2 separate regions of the Homo sapiens genome follow, and region 1 is linked to region 2. Evidence: promoter capture Hi-C in human tissues and cell types (Jung and others, 2019). All regions are on one chromosome and are shown on one strand. Each heading gives the region's core, a stretch centred on a gene start or on the middle of the fragment in contact. The rest is flanking DNA. Distances are from core to core; before and after follow the strand shown. Region 1 overlaps SMC1B (structural maintenance of chromosomes 1B). Region 2 holds the start of SMC1B (structural maintenance of chromosomes 1B).

Region 1 (6,824 bases), core at 3,836-6,335, 47 kb before region 2:
CCACTGTCCAGCCTGGGCAACAAAGGGAGACTCCGTCTGAAGAAAAAACAAAACACTATTTGCTCTAAACAACTAACCACTTCTCCTGGTTGAGAATGTTTGAAAAAAATTACAATGTTTGAAGGGTGTGATGTGAGACCAAGAGCAACAAAGGGCACATATTCAAATGCAACTCATTTCATACATTTCAGATAGTTGGTGTCCATGTTTAAAACTCTGACTAGGTCTTTCAAACTGATGAAGTCTTAATTACCTATCAACAGCCAGAAACTTCTTCCGTTCCTCTTCAATTTGAGTTTGAACTTTCTCGGCACTGGAGTTCTGAGTGACACGTATGTCCTTAAGTTGCTGCTGCTTTGCCATGAGTTCATTCACTGTCTGCAGACAGTTTTCTTCAGCCTGAACAGAGAGGATCTGCATTGTAGATTTACTATCTTTTATATTAATAAGGTACTTCTATGTTCTTATCAATAACACCAAACCAGTTATCCCGAGATGAACCTTCTCACCCTATGTGCTACCTGACCTTCCATCGTGGACTGTGACTCACGTTCTACACTTTTTAGAAACTGGTGATCATTACCTGCCTTTATCCTTCATTTTGTTTTTGTTTTTTTGTCCTTATTTTGGATTCATTCCTCAGCTCACTGACTTCTGTTCCCATTCTCCAATGAGAGTGTTTCTGCTATCATGATCTCTGTCAATTAAACATTTTCCAGACTTTTACGTTTTTGACAGCCTTGATCATTTCCTCCTTCCTGAAACTCTGGGGCTTCTGTGATACCACCTCTTTTGACTCTCCTCATAAGCTAAGTGACCACCTTCCAGATCCCATCGCTGCTCCACTGCTCTTCACTGCCTACCTCCCTGCTAGGGAGTCTCAACCATTCTCATGTGGTTTCAGTTTACTCCCATAAACCAGCAACTCCCAAATCTGTATCTTCAGCCTAGACTTCTCCCATTATCTACTGTTTAACAGCCTGCTGGAAATTGCCATCTAGACATCACATAGGCAACTCAAGCTCCACAGGTCCAGAATTTTCTCTCCTTAACCTGCTGCTCCCATTCACCAATCACCCCAGTTAGAACTAAGGAGTCATCTGTGACATCCCCTTGCCCTTCCTCCCATGTTGACATCCAGTAATTCATAAAGCTCTGCTGATTTTACTTTAAGTATTTCTTAAATCTGTCCCCAACCCCTTCACTAACAGGACCCTTCAGGAGCGCACAAAAGGTTTACCACATGAAGGAAGTCATAATTTCAATGAAGAGGCACTTCAGCTACCCATTATTAATTACCTTCTTTAGGTGATCAATATCTTCACTACCTTTCTGGATAGTTTCTTTTAATGTGTTGATCTTATTCAGTTTCTTCTTAAGGTGACTGCGACTATACTCAAGTTGAACATTAAGCCGAGTTTTTTGTTTTTCAAATTCTAATCTAGTATAATAAAGTCAAGCATTACAAGTGTAAACAGAAAACTTTGATTCCTTCTTTTTTCTTATGGGAAATTTCAAACAAATATAAAAGTAAAAGGAATACTATAATGAACTCCCAAGTAGCTGTCACCCAACTTAATAATTATCAATTCATGGTCATTCTTGTTTCATTGATAACTCCACTAATTGACCCTCCCACCACTGGCTTATTTGAAGCAAGTTCTAGACATGATGTAATTTCACCTGTAAGTATTTTTGTATGTATCTCTAGAAGTGAAATGACTTTTAACTCATAAAGTATTATGGCTAAAATATAATTCATTAATATCAAATTGCTGTCATTGCCAAATTTCCTTTTTAAAAATTTTCTTTTATTCTGGGCGCAGTGGCTCATGCCTGTAATCCCGGCACTTTGGGAGGCCAAGGTGGCACATCACTTGAGGTCAGGAGTTCGAGACCAGCCTGGCCAACATGGTGAAACCCCACCTGTACTAAAAATACAACAATTATCCAGGCTTGGTGGCGTGTACCTACAGTCCCAGCTACTCAGTAAGCTGAGGTGGTAAGAACTGCTTGAACCTGGGAGGTTGCAGTGAGTTGAGATCACACCACTGCACTCCAGCCTGGGTGACAAAGTGAGACTCCATCTCAAAAAAACAAAAGCAGATACAAAAAAAATTCTTTTTTAAAAAAGAAAAATTGGTTGTTTGAATCAGTATCCACACATTGCATACAGATGATGTTTCTTAAATCTTTTATAATCTACAGATTTCCTCTCCTCTTTTTCTTTATGTGTTTATTCTTATTATTTAGTCTTTTCAAATAACTATTTTTTTTTTTTGAGATGGAGTCTCACTCTGTTGCTCAGGCTGGAATGCAGTGATGCGATCTCAGCTCACTGCAACCTCCGCCCCCTGGGTTCAAACAATTCTCCTGCCTCAGCCTTCCTAGTAGCTGGGATTACAGGTGTGTGCTACCATGCCCGGCTAATTTTTGTATTTTTAATAGAGACAGGGTTTCGCCATGTTGGCCAGGCTGGTCTCAAACTCCTGACCTCAAGTGATCCACCTGCCTCTGCCTCCCAAAGTGCTGGAATTACAGGCATGAGCCACCGCGCCTGGCCCAAATAACTATTCTTATATAAACACCAAACTTGGGAACGTTCATTCCTACTTTGCCAGCTTCATAAACTCCTCATAAAGAATTCCATTGTCAACTGTAGCTCATCCTTTCCATGCTCACCCTGCCCCCCCACCACACCCTGCTAACAGAATCATTTGTTCGAGAAACATTTTTAAGTACTAACAGCTATTGTGCTAGATACTGCTAATATAAAAACAACTATAACAATTAAAACATTAATAACTATTTAATGAGAGGTTACTATATACCTGACAGTGTTATAAAAGTTTTTACATGAATTAACTTACAAGTTTTAAAACTCTACTAGGTCAGTAATATTATCATCTTTATTTAACAGATGAGAAGACCAAGGAACAGAGAGCTAAGCAACTTGCCCAAGGCTACCCACTTAGTGGTAGAGCCAGGGATGACACACTCAGACAGGGGGACAACAGAATCCCTGCTCTTAATCCGTGACCACACTGCCTGTAGGAGAGCTTAAGAAATTTATTTGTGCTGCAGGAGGCAGACATACAGATGATGTAGAAGTGGAACGCTTCTTCACTTGGCTTTGGGGTGTCACATTACCCTGGCTTTCCTTTCCCCCAACTAGCTGCTCTTTTAATGGTTCTTTCTCATCTCTTCGACTTGCTAACATCTTGTAGGATCTCTTTTCCTTTTTTTTTTTTTTTTTTTTTTTTTTTTTTTGAGATGGAGTCTCGCTCTGTTGCCCAGGCTGGAGAGCAGTGGCACGATCTCGGCTCACTGCAAGCTCCGCTTCCCGGGTTCACGCCATTCTGCTGCCTCAGCCTCCCAAGTAGCTGGGACTACAGGCACCTGCCACCACGCCCGGCTAATTTTTTGTATTTTTAGTAGAGACATGGTTTCACCGTGTTAGCCAGGATGGTCTCGATCGCCTGACCTCGTGATCCGCCCACCTCAGCCTCCCAAAGTGCTGGGATTACAGGCATGAGCCACCGCACCCGGCCGGATCTCTTCTCCTTTCTATCCACATTCATTCCGTTGTTGCTCTTGTGTAGTTACATGACTTCAAGTGCCATTTATATACGGACATTCCCAAAATTTATACCTCTAGCCTGGGCCTCGCCTTTGAACTCCTAACTTGTGTATTCAGCTACCCATTCTATACCTCTAACTGGATATCACAGACATCACAAACTCAGTACCTAGAATACACAGTGAATAAGCCACTAGAAGTAACAGAGGATTTAGCAAAGTTACTAGATGTTAGATCAATCTAAAATTTGAGATTAGGCCGAGCATGGTGGCTCACACCTGTAATCCCGGGCACTTTGGAAGGCTGAGGTTGGCAGATCGCTTGATCCCAGGAATTGAAGACCAGCCTGGGCAACATGGCAAAACCCCATCTCTACAAAAAATACAAAAATTAGCTGGGCATGTTGGCACACACCTGTGGTCCCAGCTACTTGGGAGGCTGAGGTAGGAAGATCACTTGAGCCCAGGAGGCAGAGGTAGCAGTGAGCCAAGATTGTGCCACTGCACTCCAGCCTGGGTTGACAGAGTGAGACCCTGAATTAATAAAGATAAAATAAAATTTGAGATTATTTTTCTACACTAGTAGAAACCAACTAGCAAAAGCATCATAAAAACACATACTATTCACAAGAAAAAAATAAACCCTATAATTATCTAGAAATTAATAAGAAAACATAGATCTCTATGGGAAAAAACTCCAAAATTCTAATAAAGGATATAGATGATTAGAATAAATGGAGAGACATTCTATGTTTTTAGATGGGATGACAATATTTTGAAGGTATCAATTCTCCACAAATCTATCAATCCAATGCAATCTCAATTAGAATTCCATTTTGGTTGTTTTTTGGGTTTGTTTGTTTGTTTGTTTGTTTTTGAGACAGAGTCTCCCTCTGTCACCTAGGCTGGAATCTGGTGGAACGATCTTGGCTCACTGCAACTTCTGCCTCCCAGGTTCAAGCAATTCTCTTGCCTCAACCTCCTGAGTAGCTGGGACTACAGGCATGTGCCACCACGCCCAGCTAATTTTTGTATTTTTAGTAGAGATGATGTTTCGCCATGTTGCCCAGGCTGGTCTCAAACTCCTGAGCTCAGGTGATCCGCCTGCCTCGAGCTCCCAGATTGTTAGGATTACAGGTGTCAGCTACCATGTCCAGCCTCCAGTTGGATTTTTGTGAGAACCTCAATAAACATTGTAATAGGCAGAATTATTTAGAAAGCAAGTCTAAATAAGAGGTCCAGGCTAAAGGTACAAATTTTGGGAATGTCAGTATATAAATGTTACTTAAAGTCATATAACTAGACAAGTTCAAAGTTTACCTCAGAAGAAGAAATATGACAAGGTTAAAGAGGGGGCATTTTATGATGATGAATTAATTCATCAAAAAGACAGTGATCCCAAATATGTATGCACCTAATAACAAGGCTTGAAAATACATTAAGTAAAATCTGGCTGGGTGTGGTGGCTCACACCTGTAATCCCAGCACTTTGGGAGGCCGAGGTGCATGGATCACCTGAGGTCAGGAGTTTGAGACTAGCCTGGCCAACGTGGCAAAACTCCAAAAAACTAAGTGCTGGGATTACATGCATAAGCCGCTGCACTCAGCCACAGATAATTCTTAGATTTGCTCTTGAGATAATTTTCTATATCTTGTAGGCATTCTTCATTCCTTTCATTCTTTTTTTCTCTTCTGTCTTTTCCTGTAGCCTATCTTCAGGCTTACTGATTCTTTCCTCTGCTTGATCCATTCTGCTGTTAACAGCCTCTAAGGAATTTTCCAGTTCAGCAAATGTATTTATCAGTTCCAGCATTTCAATCTCTTTGTTAAGCTTCTCCGATAAATTTCTGAGTTGCTTTTCTGTTATTTTGGAGATCACCAAGTTTCCTTAAAACTTCTATTTTAAGTTCTTGATCAGAGAGCTTGCCTACTAGTCTCACTAGGCTCAGTTACTGGCTCCTTGCTTTGTCTGTTTTGGGAGGTCATGGTTCCCCGTTTGCTATTGTTTCTTGTGGATGTACATCTATCTCTTCACATTAAAGGATTATCTCTGTCTGGCTTGTTTTTGTTTTTTTATTTGGTATGTTTGCTTAGAAATTTGCAATATACCTGTTGGGTACCTTTTCTTTTTTCCCCGCTGATAGGCTCACTGCCTGCTTTTTGGCACCAGGTGATGCCTTAAGCTCAGGTTTGCTTCAGCTCCAGCAAACTTTGGAGCGTTGCCTATCTTGCATGGGGGAGATCCTAAAGGGGATATCCTGACAATTTGGGAAGGCTGGCTACAGGCTGGTGCCCAGGGGACCTATGGAACCTACCTCTGTGTGGTGTTGCTGTGTGATGCTGCTGAACAGCCACTCTAATTTGGTGTCTCCTTTGACCAAGTTACACAGCAGAGTTTCCTGGACTGGGGATGCTAGTCCTGCTTCACTGCTTTGTCTGTCGGTCCTCAGGAACTTTTCTCCCTTCAGTGATACTTCCTATGGGCTGAGGCAGGGACAGGCCCCTTGCCAGGGAACCCAAGATGGTGAGGAAGCTGGTTGTCCACCTTGATCTCACTCTTTCCAGGGTAGTAACCACGAGTCAGGGGAAATTTTTCTGCACACTTGGTGCCTGACATATTGGGATAAGGGCACCACAGATGTAAGTCCAATTCTCTTATTGTCTGCAAGATTTTTCACTTCTCTGTGGCTTCAGGAACTGTCTCATTCTTGTTTTTGAATTCTGGGATATTGCTGGTGACAATCTCAGCACTGTATATTTGTTTATGGTTTTCTCTGGGAAGCAGTGAAGCCAGCTTGATTCTATTCTGACATTTTGGTGATGTCACTGCCAAATTTGTATACTTTATTTTTCTTGTCTAACTTTATTGACTAGTATCTCTAGAATAATATTAGATAATAGTGATACTGAGTATCTCTAATTTCTGACATTACTAGGAAGTGAAACCATGAAACCACAATGCTGATTTCTGAGATGTATTTTTTCATATCATAGGTATCTTAACTATTCACATCTTAAGAATATTCAACCAAGAATAAATGCTGAATTTTGTCAAGTGTTTTTTCATCATCCTTAGAGTTGATCATATGATTCTTTCTTAATATGGTGAATTAAACAATAGATTTCCTGATACAGAACCATCCTTATAGTTCTGATATAAAGCCCACTAGATAATGGTACATTATTTTGTTGTTGTACTGCTGATTTGTATTTAACCTTGTTTTACTTGGTTATTTATAGGTGAC
Region 2 (7,110 bases), core at 4,241-6,740:
AGGTACTCCTTCCTTCATCTTATTATTATTTTTTTGAGACGGAGTCTTGATCTGTCGCCTAGGCTGGAGGGCAGTGGCGTGATCTCGGCTCACTGCAAGCTCTGCCTCCCGGGTTCATGCCATTCTCCTGCCTCAGCCTCCCGAGTAGCTGGGACTACAGGTGCCTGCCACCTCGCCCAGCTAATTTTTTGTATTTTTAGTAGAGACGGGGTTTCATCGTGTTAGCCAGGATGGTCTCAATCACCTGACCTCGTGATCCGCCCGCCTCGGCCTCCCAAAGTGCTGGGATTACAGGCGTGAGCCACCATACCCGACCCTCCCTCCTTCATCTTAACTAAATATCCAGATTTTAAAATGTTATTTGACAGTAGGGGGATTTGAACAATTATGTCAGTTAAGGAAAAGCAGACATAATTGGAGAAATATGTGGCGAATCAAACAGGTTCTGTTACTTGCTTCTGAGATATGCTATGCAAGAGAAAAAAGAACTCTAGTTCATTACACCAGTAGAATAATAAACCATACCCTCCAAAGAAAGAAAAAATGGGCAATCTTACTTGACTCTTGAAAAATAAAATGAAAAAAAATTATAAAAAAATACCTCGGATAATCCTTGCAAATGTTTTCTCTTCGCCACTTTCCTCCACATATATAATTTTTACACTTGCAGAAGAAGAAATAGGTTTTCCAATATGTGCTCCATGAATGAGTTCTTGAATATTTTTCACTCTTAAATTAGCTATTTTCTCTCCCATTACAAAACTAAGTGCATCCATTACATTAGATTTTCCTGGGGAAGAAAAGAGATAAAACATTATTCATTCTTAATGATAAAAAGCCCTACCCAGAGCTGAAGAAATCAGGCCACCAATCGAAGTGAAATATAGCCAAAAGACATGTCCTTTTTAATCAATGTTCAAAATGCATGACTGAAATATTTGATGTAGATAACTCATTTCTTCTATGCATCTATTGTAGACTATTAAGAGGTCTAAATTTAAGGACTGAAATACACCTATCTAAATCCCAGCTCTCTTCCATTGTTAGGTATCACACCATGGCAAATCATTTAACTTCACTGAGTTTCAATTATCCTCATTTTATAAATATGGAAACTACCTAAAGCATTGGTGCAGCACCAAATCCTCTTATACTCTAAAAAAGAGAGGCTAAGGCTGGACGCGGTGGCTCATGCCTATAATCCTAGCACTTTGGCAGGCCAAGGTGAGCAGATCACCTGAGGTCAAGAATTCGAGACTAGCCTGGCCAACACGGTGAAGCCCCCTCTCTACCAAAAAATATAAAAAATAGCCGAGCTTGGTGGCACGCACCTGTAGTCCCAGCTACTCAGGAAGCTGAGGCAAGAGAATTGCTTGAACCTAGGAGGCGGTGGTTGCAGTGAGCCGAGATTGCACCACTGCACTCCAGCCTGGGCAACGAGGAGAGACTCCAACTCTAAATAAATAAATAAATAAATAAATAAATAAATAAATAAATAAATAAAAACAAGAGAAGCTAACTAAATCCAGGATCGAGGGCTAGATTAAAATTGTTTGATTGGTATGAGATGGTGCTACAGAAAATTTATATAGCAGGCTTGATACTGTTATCTTTTGAAAGTCCTACTTACAAGGTTGGCTGGCTTACAGGGATTTGGATTTGGATGTTGGGAGGGTTTCTAACATTCCCTATTAAGAATGGCTCACAGTGCCTAAACTATCTGTACAAACAATATGATTTAATCTGAACATATGCTTTCTTTCTAGGATTCTGGAATATTATTTTATAATTTCTTTTGAGGAAGGTCTGGCCTAAGAAGATTCTGGAACTTGGGTACATGATAGGCAAACGGTGCCTATGTGACAATCTCCCGATAAAAACGCTGCACATTGAGTCTTTAGTGAGGTTCCCTGGTGGGCAACATTTCACATGTGTGGACTAGCTGCTGGAGGAATGAAGCACTGAGTGACACCAATGGGTAAGGACTTGGAATCTTGCAACTGGTTTCCTAAGACTTTGCCTCATATATCCTTTCCCTTTGCTGAGTTCGCTTTGTATTTTTTCACTGTAATAAATAATAGTATTGAGTCAAACTATATGTAGAATCCTGTGAGTTTTCCCAACAAATTACTGAACCTAAGGGTAGTTGTGGGCATTCCTAACCCCAATGTTAAATCTGTTACCCAATCATTGGCCCATAATTTTCTCTAAGACAATTTCCAAGGTGCAATGTCAATGCAGCTGTCACCATCACTATTATTTCTCCTTTTCACATCCCTTCCCCTATATCCACAAAGCAGTTTAAATTTTCAGGCTGGGCGCAGCAGCTCACACCTGTAATCCCAGCACTTTGGGAGGCCGAGGCAGGAAGATCACCCGAGGTCAGGGGTTCGAGACCAGCCTGACCAACATGGTGAAACCCCGTCTCTACTAAAATACAAAAAATTAGCCAGCTGTGGTGGCGTGCGCCTGTAATCCCAGCTACTCGGGAGGCTGAGGCAGAAGAATCACTTGGATCCAGAAGGCAGAGGTTGCAGTGAGCTGATATTACACCACTGTACTCCAGCCTGGGCAAGAGAGCAAGACTCCATCTCAAGACAAAAGAAATAATTAATTAATTTTCAATGCCAAAACTAGGAAAGTAACATAAACAAAGCAAAGGAATACTATCAGCCACCGGAAATATGGCTTAGTTTTAGAGGTTTAGGGTCTTTCTAAAAAGAACTAGAAATAAATTGCTGCAAATTTATTTAGCTGAGTCTCAGTCAACTAACAGGTATGAAACGGCTTTTTTGGGTTAATGGATAATCTGCACATTGAGGGCTATTGTAAGACAGTGCATATGGACAAGATAAACATTCACTGAATTAAATTATTAAGTAATTTAAGTATTAAGTAACAAAACTAAACATAAACTTTTAAAATCAATAAGTCAATCCTTATTTAAATCTGCCTAAAATAAATACTTCTCATCCAAATCCATTTATTCCATTAAATTTCATTAATATTGTCCCTGCCTAATAAAGGTTATAGTCTGTCAAGAGAGTCAAGGCAGCATAACATACCACAAAGTGGCAACAACCCAAACTATCAACTGATGGATAAACAAAATGTAGTATATCTATACAGTGAAATATTATTTGAAAATAAGAAGGAAATAAGTACTAATACAAGGAGCAACATAGATGAATCTGAAAAACATTATGCTAAGTGAAAGAAGTCAGACACAAAAGGCCATATATTGTCTGATTCTATTTATACGAAATGTCCCAAATAGGTAAATCCATAGAGACAGAAAGTGAATTAGTAGATACCAGGAGCTAGGTGGAGAGGAAATAACAGGGAGTGATTGCTAATGAGTACAAGGTTTCTTTGGGGGCAATGAAAATGTTTTGGAAGTAGATGGTGATGATGGTTGCACAACTTTTGAATATACTAAAAACCACTGAACGGTGCATTTTATTTATTTATTTATTTTTACTTATTTATTTTTGAGATGCAGTCTTGTTCTGTTGTTGCCCAGGCTGGAGTGCAGTGGCGTGATGTCAGCTCACTGCAGCCTCTGCCTCCCAGGTTCAAGCGATTCTCCTGCCTCAGTCCCCTGAGTAGCTGGGACTACAGGCGTGCGCCACCACGCCAGGCTTTTTTGTATTTTTAGTACAGATGGGGTTTCATCATGTTGGCCAGGCTGGTCTTGAACCCCTACCTCCAGTGATCTGCCTGCCTCAGCCTCCCAAAGTGATGGAATTACAGGTGTGGGCCACCATGTCAGGCCTTATTTTTTTGTTGAGACAGAGTCTTGCTCTGTCGCCCAGGCTGGAATGCAGTGGCACAGTCTTGGCTCACTGCAACCTCCGCCTCCCGGGTTCAAGTGATTCTCCTGCCTCAGTCTCCCAAGTAGCTGGTATTACAGGCACGTGACACCACCCCCAGCTAATTTTTGTATTTTTAGTACAGACAGGGGTTTCACTATGTTGGCCAGGCTGGTTTCTAACTCCTGACCTAAGGTGATCCGCCCGCCTCGGCCTCCCAAAGTGCTGGGATTATAGGCATGAGCCACGGCGCCCGGCCAATTTTATTTTATATTTATCTTATTTTATTTTATTTTAGAGTCGAAGTCTCGCTCTTGTTACCCAGGCTGGAGTGCGGTGGTGCTATCTTGGCTCACTGCAACCTCTGCCTCCCGGGTTCAAGCGATTCTCCTGCCTCAGCCTCCTCAGTAGCCGGGATTACAGGTGCATGTCACCACACCCGATTAATTTTTGTATTTTTAGTAGAGACAGGGCTTCACCATGTTGGTCAGGCTGGTCTCGAACTCCTGATCTCATGATCCACCCGCCTCGGCCTCCTAAAGTGCTGGAATTACAGGTGTGAGCCACCGCGCCCAGCCTTTTTTTTTTTTTTTTTTTTTTTTTTGAGACGAGAGTCGCACTGTGTTGCCAGGCTGGAGTGCAATGGCGTGTCCTTGGCTCACTGCAACTTCCACCTCCCAGGTTCAAGCGATTCTCCCGCCTCAGCCTCCAGAGTAGTTGGGATTACAGGCGTGTGCCACCACACCCAGCTAATTTTGGTATTATTAGTAGAGACCTCCGCAGGTCCTCTGGCCTCTCCAGACCTCAGTTTCCCCAACTATAAAATGGGGAGAGCAGCCATGCGCCATGGCTAACCAAAGACGGTGTCGCCAGGAACTTAGGAAAAGCTCAGTAAACTGGGTCATCATCACTACATTCCTGGGTCAAAGCTCCCTTGGATCCAAATGGTGGTTCTGGCTGCTTGGAACCCATTACCTCCTCGACAGCTCCCTCTCACTTCAACTTCGGATGAGAAGGGAAAAGGGACGCGAGTGACCAGGGCCAAGGGCAAGAGCAGTCCCCGAAGCAGGAGTGAGGGCAGAGAACAGGGCCCAGGGCGGGACCGGGGCGGAGAGGAAGCGTCAGGACCCCCAGGGTGGGGGGCGAGGGTTGGGAGCCCCTGAGATGAAGGGCGAGGGCCGGAGCTGAGGTGGGGTGGGGTCCCTCAGGGTGTCGGAGGAGGGTCGGGAGCCAGGAGGTGGAGGGCGAGAGCGGGGCCCGAGGCGGGGCCGAGTGGAAGGGTCAGGACCTCCGAGGTGGGGCGGAGGGACAAGGGTCGGGACCCCTGAGGTGGACGGCGAGGACCGGGGCTGAGGTGGGGTGATGGGCAGGGGCTGGGCCAGGGCCAGGCCGGGATCCGGTCGCGGTCAGGCTCCGGGACTGGAAGGGGAAGGCCGGCCAGGCGCCCGCGGCAGACGCCCACACCCCACAGGCCACGTGTGGCCTGGACGCCTGGGACGGCGGAGGCGCTCCGGTGGCGCCCTGAGCTGCTCAGTTACCAGAGCCGTTGGGGCCGATGATGCAGGTGAACCTCCGGAAGGGGCCAATGACCTGGCGGCCCCGCCACGACTTGAAATTTTCCACAAGCAGCAGCTCCAGGTGGGCCATGGCGCCGCCCTCCACGCCTCACCCGCGTTATCAAGCGCCCGCGGAAAAAGCGCGGGAAGGGATTCGCCAAGTGTCGCGAGAAGAGAGCGAGACGCGGCAAGCGCGGAGCCGTTCCTTAGCAACGAGTTGTTGACATTTCCGAGAGAGCGGGAGCGTCTGTACCTCTGCGGCGTCACTGGGAGCCCGACGGAAAACTGCGCTAAAGGCTTGTCTTTCCCCTGCCCGACCGAAGGAGCCGACCTTGCCTGCGCTACAGCTTCCTTATTTTCGTCGCCTGTTCTCCTGATCCTGCGTGTTCTAAAAACCCCTTAGGCTTTCCATGGGTTCCCAGACCATGGCGGTGGCGCTGCCCAGGGACTTGCGGCAGGACGCCAACCTGGCAAAGAGGAGGCACGCGGAGCTGTGCAGGCAGAAGCGGGTCTTCAACGCCAGAAACAGGATAATTGGGGTGAAAGGGCAGGGGCCGGGACGGGGTTAGAGCGGCAGATGCGGGCGAGGGGCTGCGTGGAGGGGGAAAGGAGATGAGTTCTAGGATGAAACATCTGAGCCAGGAGGCAGCAAACGGCCTCCTGCAGGGCCAATAATGCTCCCTCTCGAGCTCGCCTGGAGTCACCAACGGTTCTCCTCCCCTGAGCCAGATTTTCTACAACTCGTTTACAGTGGGGCAGAGATTAAAAATAATAATAAGTAGGATTGTTATTACTGAATAAAATGATCTGGCTCTAACCCTTCTCCTCTGTTTTTCCATTTATAGGGAGACACTGAAGCCTGGGATGTTCAAGTTCATGACCAGAAGATAAAAGAAGCTACTGAAAAAGCTAGACATGAAACCTTTGGTGAGCATTTCCTGAATGCTTATCTATTGGTTTAGGATTGTGTGGCTTTAGACTCCAGTCTTCCCCACCGTCCCCCTGCCCCGCCTTTTTTTTTTTATTTTTTATTTTTTTTATTTAATAGAGATAGGGTCTCACTATGTTGCCCAGGCTGGTCTGGAACTCCTGCGTGCAAGTGATCCTCCCACGTCAGTCTCCCAAAGTGCTGGAACTACAGGCATGAGCCACGGTACCCAGCCCTCCTTTCTTCACATATATAAAAAGTTGTCATTTTCACACTCTTCTTCCTTTTAAATTTCACAATTTCTTGTGCCCAGTTAACTTAATGCACTGATTCTTCTCTTAAAAACAGCTATTGAATTCGAATGTGGATTATAAGAAATAGATTTTAAGGGTATATGTATGTTTTCCTTCATTTTCTTAAAAAACTGGATAGGAAAAGCCTTAAACACAGAAAGACACACACACACACTCACTTGCTCTGCTCAAAAGTTTAAGACCGTCTATGAAGGACAGCTGTTTATACCAGACAACACATATGTCCGGGCTCACACCCTCAAGCTGACTCAGAGACAGACATGATTCAAATCATAGTATTCAAGTACCTTGAATACTGTTATTCAAGGTATTATTATTCCACTTCAAATACAACTTATTTTCCCCTATCGTGTCCAACAATTTCAACAATTGTTGAAATTTCACACTTTGAGAGGCTAAAACTAGAGGATCACTTGAGACCAGGAGCTCCAGACTTGCCTGGGCAACAAAGCGAGACCCCATCTCTACAAAAAATAAATTGAAAAAAAAAAAAAAAAGAA

The links. The method cuts DNA at HindIII sites, captures the fragments that hold promoters and counts their contacts. A contact is called where the count stands out against the background at its distance.
Region 1: a fragment that was not itself captured here is called in contact with the fragment with the promoter of SMC1B in region 2 in 1 of the 25 tissues and cell types used here (IMR-90 fibroblasts).

Annotation. Positions count from the first base shown.
Region 1 is chr22:45,361,586-45,368,409 of GRCh38, forward strand. SMC1B (structural maintenance of chromosomes 1B) reads right to left here. Exons shown (of 25, transcript NM_148674.5): 16 at 1,300-1,441; 17 at 254-399. Among named protein-coding and RNA genes, the nearest start is that of SMC1B, 49 kb to the right of the region's middle. The HindIII fragment of the contact is 7,660 bases long and covers 1,256-6,824 here.
Region 2 is chr22:45,408,109-45,415,218 of GRCh38, forward strand. SMC1B (structural maintenance of chromosomes 1B) reads right to left here and starts at 5,491. Exons shown (of 25, transcript NM_148674.5): 1 at 5,351-5,491; 2 at 602-790. The coding sequence starts at 5,459. RIBC2 (RIB43A domain with coiled-coils 2) reads left to right here and starts at 5,585. Exons shown (of 7, transcript NM_015653.5): 1 at 5,585-5,907; 2 at 6,214-6,295. The coding sequence starts at 5,779. RefSeq lists an enhancer at 5,574-6,407. The HindIII fragment of the contact is 17,180 bases long and covers 1-7,110 here.